2 separate regions of the Homo sapiens genome follow, and region 1 is linked to region 2. Evidence: promoter capture Hi-C in human tissues and cell types (Jung and others, 2019). All regions are on one chromosome and are shown on one strand. Each heading gives the region's core, a stretch centred on a gene start or on the middle of the fragment in contact. The rest is flanking DNA. Distances are from core to core; before and after follow the strand shown.

The links. Contacts are between HindIII fragments. The study calls those that stand out against the background at their distance.
Region 1: a contact is called between the fragment with the promoter of CSDC2 here and a fragment that was not itself captured in region 2, in 1 of the 25 tissues and cell types used here (aorta).

The regions. Positions count from the first base shown.
Region 1 is chr22:41,558,832-41,563,253 of GRCh38, forward strand. CSDC2 (cold shock domain containing C2) reads left to right here and starts at 2,179. Exons shown (of 4, transcript NM_014460.4): 1 at 2,179-2,352. LOC105373044 (a long non-coding RNA gene) reads right to left here and starts at 2,052. Exons shown (of 2, transcript NR_134631.1): 1 at 1,889-2,052. The HindIII fragment of the contact is 6,219 bases long and covers 1-3,346 here.
Region 2 is chr22:41,198,734-41,203,391 of GRCh38, forward strand. No RefSeq gene overlaps it. Among named protein-coding and RNA genes, the nearest start is that of EP300-AS1, 3.6 kb to the left of the region's middle. The HindIII fragment of the contact is 6,746 bases long and covers 1-4,658 here.

The DNA.
Region 1 (4,422 bases), core at 929-3,428, 360 kb after region 2:
CAGGCTGAGGCACGGGAATTGCTTGAACCCGGGAGGCAGAGGTTGCAGTAAGCTGAGATCACACCACTGCACTCCAGCCTGGGCGACAGAGTGAGACTCCGTCTCAAAAAAAAAAAAAAAAAAGAAAGATATTATTGCTGGAGGAGAGGAAGGCAAAGAAGAAAGAAGAGACGATGTTATCCCAGCACTTTGGGAGGCCAAGGTAGGAGGATCGCTTGAGGCCAGGAGTTTGAGACTAGCCTGGGCAACATAATGAGACCCCATCTCTATAAAAATTTTTTGAAAACTTAGCCAGGCATGGTGGTGCACCCCTGTAGTCCCAGCTACTCATGAGGCTGAGGCGGGAGGATCATTTGAGCCCAGGAGTTGGAAGCTGCAGTGAACTGTGATTGAGCCACTGCATTCTAGCCTGGGTAACAAAGCAAGACCCTGTTTCAAAAAAGAAAAAATAAATAAATAAAAAGGAGGAAAGAGAGAGGAGAATTTAAAGGGGAAGGGAGGCTCCTCTGGGTAGAGTTCTCAGGTGGGGCTGTGAAATAAAATCAGAACCCTGGCTGGGCGCGGTGGCTCACGTCTGTAATCCCAGCACTTTGGGAGGCTGAGGTGGGTGGATCACGAGGTCGGGAGATCGAGACCATTCTGGCCAACATAGTGAAACCCTGTCTCTACTAAAAATACAAAAAAATTAGCTGGGTGTGGTGGTGTGTGTCTGTAGTCCCAGCTACTCAGGAGGCTGAGGCAGGAGAATCGCTTGAACCCGGGAAGCGGAGGTTGCAGCGAGCTGAGATCAAGCCACTGCCCTCCAGCCTGGGCGACACAGCAATACTCTCTAAAAAAAATAATAATAATTCAGAACATCCCCAGGTAACCACAGGCAGCATTTCTCAACAGTCTCTCCTGCAGAACCAGAAACCCAGACTGTCTGAGCCTGATTGTCCTGAGAGGTTCTGGAAGGGCAGGGGCGTGTGGTGACACTGGGTGCTCCTGGGTTCCAGTACCTCTCTAGCCAGTTGGAAGAATATAGGCAAGTCAAGTCCTTCCTCCTCCCTGAGCCTCTAATTCCTCACCGGTAAAGTAGGGATGATAAAAATAAATTATTAAATTGTTGTGAGGTTTCAATGAGGGCAAAGCTTGCTGCCTGAAACAGAGCAAGCTCTTGTGGCGTCTTAGCTATTTGTATTAGTTACTTGTATTTTTCTCTGCGGTTTCCCTTTTAACTCCCACCTCCTTTTTATTTTAAAAAGACTCCTTTTGAAAATGCCAGCCTGCCTCAGTAGTACCAGGAGACACCAGGGAAAGGCTTCCTTCTTTCCAAGCTGAGGCTGAGAAGGAATGGGAAGAACGAAGAGAAGCACCTTTGTGGAGGCCTCCTCCAGCTGGCCCTGGGTTTAGGAACATCACACACTCAACCTCCAAAGGCCCTCAGGGGCTGGCCCAAGGTCACACAGCTTGACAGTGCGGAGCACTTCGAAGCCAGGGCGTGTGGTGTAGAACAGGCTGGGTGCCTGAATTCAATCAGCCCTCTCTACTTCTCTACTCAGAGCCTCCCAGGCTGTGGGGTGTTCACCTGTGCACCTTCAAGCCGATCACTTCCTTGGGGTCCTCGTCAATTCAATTCCATGGAAATATTACAAGGGGTAGACAGAGATGAGCCGTGTCAGTGTCTGTACTAGCAGAGGGCAGGACCACTGAGCGTCCGGAGGGGAGACGAGTGTCTGGGTGTCCCTGGGAACCTGGCTTGTCTCGACCCCTCTGGGGGGCTCCTCTTGGCTCTGACCTCCATTCTCCCAGACTCACCCCCACTCATGCCCACCCACCCCGAGGGGCCCCCCAGTGTGCACTCACACACTCACACTCAAACTCACCACCCCACTTGCTCTCTAATTACCAGGAACGTGGCGCTGTCTCAGGTTCTTCCTCCCCTGCATTCCTCAGCAGCTGCCCTCACTGGGCAGGGCAAATTATACCGTGGCCCGACCATAAAAGCCACTTTCCAAAAAAAGAAGCTTTAAGGCCCCCGAGAGACGCAGCTGAGCCTCTCACCTGGCAGTGCCTGACTCAGGAGGTGATGTCTGGGCCATGAGCCACAGAGCCTGGTGTCCCTTTAAGCAGGGAGTACAAATTCTCATCCCTCCCTCCTGCTCTCCCTGACGTCAGCTGGAAGGCGTGTGAGTGAGTGAGGGGCTGAGGTACCGCCCGCGCGAGCACACACAGACACACACACACACACACACACACACACACACACACATCTTCCAGACCCATCCCCTGCCTGCCAGCTCCACGAGCCAGAGAGAGACAGAGCGCGGACGCCGCAGGAGGCAGTGCCTGGACCCCAGCTGCCCAGGAGAGGTGAGGGGCTAGATGGGGCCTGAGGACACTGTGCCAGAAACTGTGGCTTTGGCCAGGCCGAAGGAGAGAGGTACAACGTGAAGGTGGGGGCTGGATCAGCCCAGTTCAGCTTACAGATAGGGTGTTGGGGGTATAGAGGATACCACCTGTCTCTCCCTCCCTCATTCTCTCCCCGTGACCCCCAAATGAGGTGAGGCCGTGTGGCTCCCGTGGGAGCATGTCTGTGTCTGTGTCTGTGTCTGTGTCTGGGACCTGCGTCTGGCTCAGGAGGCAGAGAGCAGCAGATACCTGCCAAGCCGCAGCCTCCTGTCTGGGAAGCAGCGGGAGAGAGGACCGCCTTGACCAGAGAAACCCCAGTGCCGCTTCCAGTTGCTGAAAGCAGAGTGCAGCAGGGACCCTTGCTGGTCCTTCCCCTGGAATGTTGGGCTGGGAAGGGACCGGCTGGGAAAGGCAGACAGTTGGACCTGGAGCAGCTGTCTTATCCTGACTCTATTTTTTCCCCAGTGTGATGGGGATAATTGTGTTAGTTGGCTTAGAGAGGTGGCTCCGTGTGGTTATTCTCTTCCCCCAGGTACCACCCCACCCCGAGCCCTTGCTTCTTGCCTGCCTGCTGGTCTGCTCTGACCTCCACCCTTGCCAGGGCACAGCCCCCGGAGGGCAGGGGTGATAAGTCAGGGCCTGCCAGGCCTCTATCTTGGGATACAGGGACTTAGGGTGGCCTTGGCTGGTGCCAAGCCCATGAATGGCCTGACCCTGGCACAAGGAGTCCAGGCGGAGATAAGGGGCGACGCTGGCACCCACAAGGAGACAGCAGGTTCCTGCCAAGCTGCCAGCCTGCAGGCTCTTCCCAGGGAGAGGGGAGGGGGACACAGAGCGAGAACAATAATAAATACAGAGTGTGAACTGCTGCATCCACTGGGGCTGGGGTAGGAGAGGAGGAAGTATGCCCAGTGGGGGGTGGGCAACCTCTCTGAGAGCCTGGCATCATGCTGCCTGGCTGTGATCCGGCAGGGGCCTCTCCCTGGGAAAGGGGGTCTCCAGCTTTCTGGGGGATGGGGAACTGGTTTCCCAAACCTGACTCCATCCCAGAGTCCTCTGGACCCTCCAAATTCTGAATGTTTCCTCCTCCCAGCTTTGCCCTGCCGCCCCCCATTTCCTTGAAGTCTTCTCCAAAAATGTCTGTTTTCTGTGTCTGCCCATCTTGACCCATCCTCACCCCCTTCAAAAAAAAAAAAAAAGACAGGTATAGACAGGAACTGCCTGCCCGTGTCCTGGGAAAGGCCAGAGGACAGTTTTGGCCACAGATGGCTCTCCCAGGCTTGGAGAGACATGGCTAGGCAATGTTCACGGATGCGCAGGGGGATTCCCTGAGGGGGACTTGGGGACACTCTCAGATGGCTGGTGGGGAGGGGACACCTGCCAGCCAGTCTGGAGTAGAGCCCCCTAGGGGGTAGAGGGCGCTCAGGACCTGGCTGAGCCAGTCATGTCCACGGTCACAACTGGGGCAGCCAGGACCCAGAGCCTTGTAGGAATGGGGCTTGGGGCAGTTCAGACCTTTGTCCATGCTGAGCAGCAAAATGGGAGGCTAAAAGTAGTAGGGAGCTCTTCTGCCCCACAGCCAGCAAAATGACACTCCTGGGCTGGGGGGCTGGCATGGCACACCAGAAAGCTGTGGGGTCACACTGATTGGAGTTCAAGTTCAGATGCTGTATGTATGTATGACTTTGACCAGTCTATTCCTCTCTCTAGGGGGTCTCAAAATGGGAAAGTGACTTGCCTAGGGTCGCACAGCCAAGCACAGGTGGGACTGGGGTGCGTATTTGGCTCTCCCAGTGCCGTCCTGGTTTCCCCACCACCACCCAAGCCACAGAAGCCCAAAGGCCTTAACCACAGCAGTTCCCCAGGGCAGCCTGGGCATGTGACAAGGAGGACTACAGGGTCTCTTAAATAATTAAGCTCAAGTATTGGCTGGGGCAGCCCTCATGCACAGACGCAGGCACACAGGCTGTGTGGGGGAAGGACCAGGTTTAATCAGGTCACCTCAGGCTGCAAGAGCAGTTCAGGCACTGA
Region 2 (4,658 bases), core at 1,818-4,317:
TCTCTAATAAAAATGCAGCAATTAGCCTGGCATGGTGGTGCACGTCTGTAGTCCCAGCTACTCGGGAGGCTGAGGGAGGAGAATCGCTTGAACTTGGGAAGCAGAGGTTTCAGTGAGCCAAGATCATGCCACTGCACTCTAGCTTGGGCGACAGTCAGTTTCAAAAATAAATAAATAAAATAAATAATAAGTGTGCAGTACTGGGCACAGTATATGGTAGTTATGATCATCCTATTAGACACTGGGATGGTAGCAACCGGTTGAGAAAAATAACCTTTATTAGTTGCTTAATCTTTTATTAATACTTTAGGGGCACAGCCATACATTTCACAGAGAATCTGCTAGTGACAAATCATCTTATTCATCAAATATTTATCTATTTATTTATTTGAGACGGAGTTTCGCTCTTTCTTGCCCAGGCTGGAGTGCAGTGGCGCAATCTCAGCTCACTGCGACCTGTGCCTCCTGGGTTCAAGCGATTCTCCTGTCTCAGCCTCCCAAGTAGCTGGAATTATAGGTGCCTGCTGCCACGCCCAGCTAATTTTTGTATTTTTAGTAGAGACGGCGTTTCACCATGTTAGCCAGGCAAGTCTCGAACTCCTGACCTCAGGTGATCTGCCCGCCTCGGCCTCCCAAAGTGCTGGGATTACAGGTGTGAGCCACTGCGCCTGGCCTCATCAAATATTTATTTAGTGCCTACCGTGCACCAGGCCCGGTGCTGGACTCTGGGAAAACACAGGTGAATTTCTGTCCTCACAGAGCTTCCTACCTCCTGCAGGGAGACAGTGAAGACTTATCAAACATCTAATTCCAACTGAGGAGGAATTTAGCAGGTGTTGTGATGGAGCCTAGGCAAGGGGGGAAAGGCCTGCTAGGTAGGGAACATACCTTTACTTGCAGGATAAGAAGGAGCTATTTCTGGGAAGGGAATTGTGGGGGAAGAGCATTTCAGGCAGAGACCCAGAATATAGAGACTGAGGTGGAGAAAAGTTCCAGTTAGCAGGAGAGCACAATGGAAAACCTTTGAAGGTTTTAAGCAGGCGAGTAAATTGATTTGATGTCTGTATTACATTTAGTGTCTGTGCGAAGAATGAACTGGAGGTGGATCAAGAGAAGAAGCAAGGGGGCCAGGTGCAGTGACTTGTGCCTGTAATCCCAGCACTTTGGGAGGACAAGGTGGGTGGATTGCTTGAGTCCAGGAGTTCAAGACCAGCTTGGGCAACATGGAGAAACCCCCTCTCTACAAAAAATACAAAAAATAGCCATGCCTGGAGGCGCACACCTGTGGTCCCCACTACTCAGGAGGCTGAGATGGGAGGATTACTTGACCCTGGGAGGTTGGGGCTGCAGTGAGCTGTGATTGTACCACTGCACTCCAGCCTGGGTGGTGACAGAGCAAGACCCTACCTCAAAAAAAAAAAAAAAAAAGGAAAAGAAAAAAAGATGTTTCTTGTGGCTGGATGTGGTGGACACACCTGTAATCCCAGCACTTTGGGAGGCCAAGACAAGTGGATCACTTGAGGTCAGGGGTTCTAGACCACCCTGTCCAACATGGCGAAACCCTGCCTCTACTAAAAAAAGTACAAAACATTAGCCCAGCATGGTGGCACGTACCCATAGTCCCAGCTACTCCGGAGACTGAGGCAGGAGAATCGCTTGAACCTCAGAGGCGGAGGTTGCAGTGAGCTGAGATTGTGTCACTGCACTCCAGCCTGGATGACAGAGCTTGACTCTGTTTCTTTTCTTTCTTTCTTTCTTTTTTTTTTTTTTTTTTGAGACGGAGTCTCACTCTGTCGTCCAAGCTGGAGTGCAGTGGCATGATCTCGGCTCACTGCAACCTCCACCTCCTGGGTTCAAGCAATTCTCTGCCTCAGCCTCCTGAGCAGCTGGGGTTACAGGCACCCACCAACATACCCAGCTAATTTTTGTATTTTTAGTAGAGACGGTGTTTCACCATCTTGGCCAGGCTGGTCTTGAACTCCTGACCTCATGACCCACCTGCCTCGGTCTCCCAAAGTGCTGGGATTACAGGCGTGAGGCACCGTGCTGGGCTGAGACTCTATTTTAAAAAAAAAAAAAAAAAGCCAGGCGCAGTGGCTCACGCCTGTAATCCTAATCCCAGCACTTTGGGAGGCCGAGGCGGGCAGATCACCTGAGGTTGGGAGTTCGAGACCAGCCTGACCAACACGGAGAAACCTTGTCTCTACTAAAAATACAAAATTAGGCCAGTCACGGTGGCTCACACCTGTAATCCCAGCTCTTTAGGGAGACTGACGTTGGTGGATTAACTGAGGTCAGGAGTTCGAGACCAGCCTGACCAACATGGTGAAACCCCGTCTCTACTAAATACAAAAATTAGCCTAGCATGGTGGCGCATGCCTGTAATCCCAGCTACTCGGGAGGCTGAGGCAGGAGAATCGCTTGAACCCAGGAAGCAGACGTTGCAGTGAGCTGAGATCACGCCATTGCACTCTAGCTTGGGCAACAAGAGCGAAACTCCGTCTCCAGAAAAAAAAAAAACAAAAGCAAAAAATGCATACATCAACAGTACAAGGAAGTAAAAACCTGAGCATCCAGTTTCAGCGTATGAGATAAGCAGAGCAGGAACACCAGTGACAGGAACCGTTGGCGTAAGTTGAAATGGCCGTTTATTAGGAATTCAGTTGAAACATCTTATTAAGCACAGGTTGCTAAGCAATAGTGGCCGCCCCAGAACAGTAACAGTGTGGCAGTTCCTTCTGCTATGGAGCTCCTGGGCAGGGGTTTCATCCTGCAGCAAAGGTACCCTTTTTGGCTGGACTAATTCATCCCTCTACATGTGGACCTAATACGCTCCTCTCTTTTAAGGCCCTCCCTCTGTGCATCACTGTCCCTCTGTCTGGGATCATTGATCTGTCTCTCTCTACTAGATCACTCCCAATAGCAACACAAACGTGCTCTTCTGTTCCAAACTATGTACATAAATCCCTTAAACTCACCTCTTCTGCTCTATGCCCTGCCATTGTGCTATTCCACCCAGACAACTTTTTTGTTGTTGTTGGTTTTTGTTTGTTTGTTTGTTTTTTGAGAGAAAATCTTGCTCTGTCGCCCAGGCTGGAGTACAGTGGCATAATCTCGGCTCACTGCATCCTCCACCGCCCTGATTCAAGCAATTCTCCGGTCTCAGCCTCCCGAGTAGCTGAGACTACAGGCGCATGTCACCACACCCGGCTAATTTTTGTAGTTTTAGCACAGATGGGGTTTCACCATATTGGTCAGGCTGGTCTCGAACTCCTGACCTCAGGTGATCCACCTGCCTCAGCCTTCCAAAGTCCTTGGATTACAGGCATGAGCCACTGTGCCCGGCCAATATTTTTCTATTTTTAGTAGAGATGGGGTTTCACCATGTTAGCTAGGCTGGTCTCAAACTCCTGACCTCAAGTGATCCACCCACCTCAGCCTCCCAAGTAGCTGGGACTATACGCTTGTGCCACCACACCAGGCTAATATTTTGTAATTTTTTTTAATTGACACAGGGTTTTCACCATGTTGGCCAGGGTGGTCTAGAATTCCTTTTTTGTTTTTTTTCCAAGCTGGAGTGCAATGGCGCGATCTCAGCTCACTGCAACTTCCGCCTCCTAGGTTCAAGCGATTCTCCTGCCTCAGCCTCCGGAGTTGCTGGGATTACAGGCATGCCTCACCAAGCCCGGCTAATTTTTGTATTTTTAGTAAAGATGGGGTTTCACCATGTCGGCCAGGCTGGTCTTGAACTCCTGACCTCAGGTGATCCGCCCACCTTGGCCTCCCAAAGTCCTGGGATTACAGGCGTGAGCCACCGCGTCTGGCAGAACTCCTGATATCAAGTTATCCACCTGCCTCAGCGTCCCAAAGTGCTGGGATTACAGGTGTGAGCCACCATGCCCAGCCAGACAACTTTTTTTTTTCTCTGTCACCAGGGTAGAGTGCAGTGGCATGAACATGGTTCACTGTAGCCTCAACCTCCTGGGCTCAAGCAATCCTCCCTCCTCAGCCTCCAGAGTATCTGGGACCACAGGTACATGCCACTACACTTAGCTAATTTTAAAAAATTTTTAGCTGGGCACAGTGGCTCAGGCCTGTGATCCCAGCACTTTGGGAGGCCAAGGCAGGCGGATCACGAGGTCAGGCGATCAAGACCATTTGCCCAGGTGGGCGAATCACCTGAGGTCGGGAGTTCGAGACCAGCCTGACCAACATGGAGAAACCCCATCTCTACTAAAAATACAAAAAAAAAAAAAAAAAATTAGCCAGGTGTGGTGGTGCATGCCTGTAATCCTAGCTACTTGGGAGGCTGAGGCAGGAGAATTGCCTGAACCTGGGAGGCAGAGGTTGTGATGAGCCGAGATCGCGCCATTGCACTCAAGCCTGGGCAACAAGAGTGAAACTCTGTCTCAAAAACAAACAAACAAAAAAACTCTAATGCCGTTCCCTTGCACAGAATAAAATCCAAGCACTCCACAAGACCCTGAATGACCTGGTCTCAGCTTTCTCTCAAACCTCATCTTGTATCACCCTCTCCATGTTTTGCTATATCCATCTACTCTCTCTGTCTTTCTGTTTATTGCATACCAAGCTTGAGTTGGCCCCAGGACCTTTGCACTTGCTGTTCCACCAATGTGGCCTTTGCACTTGCTGAACCA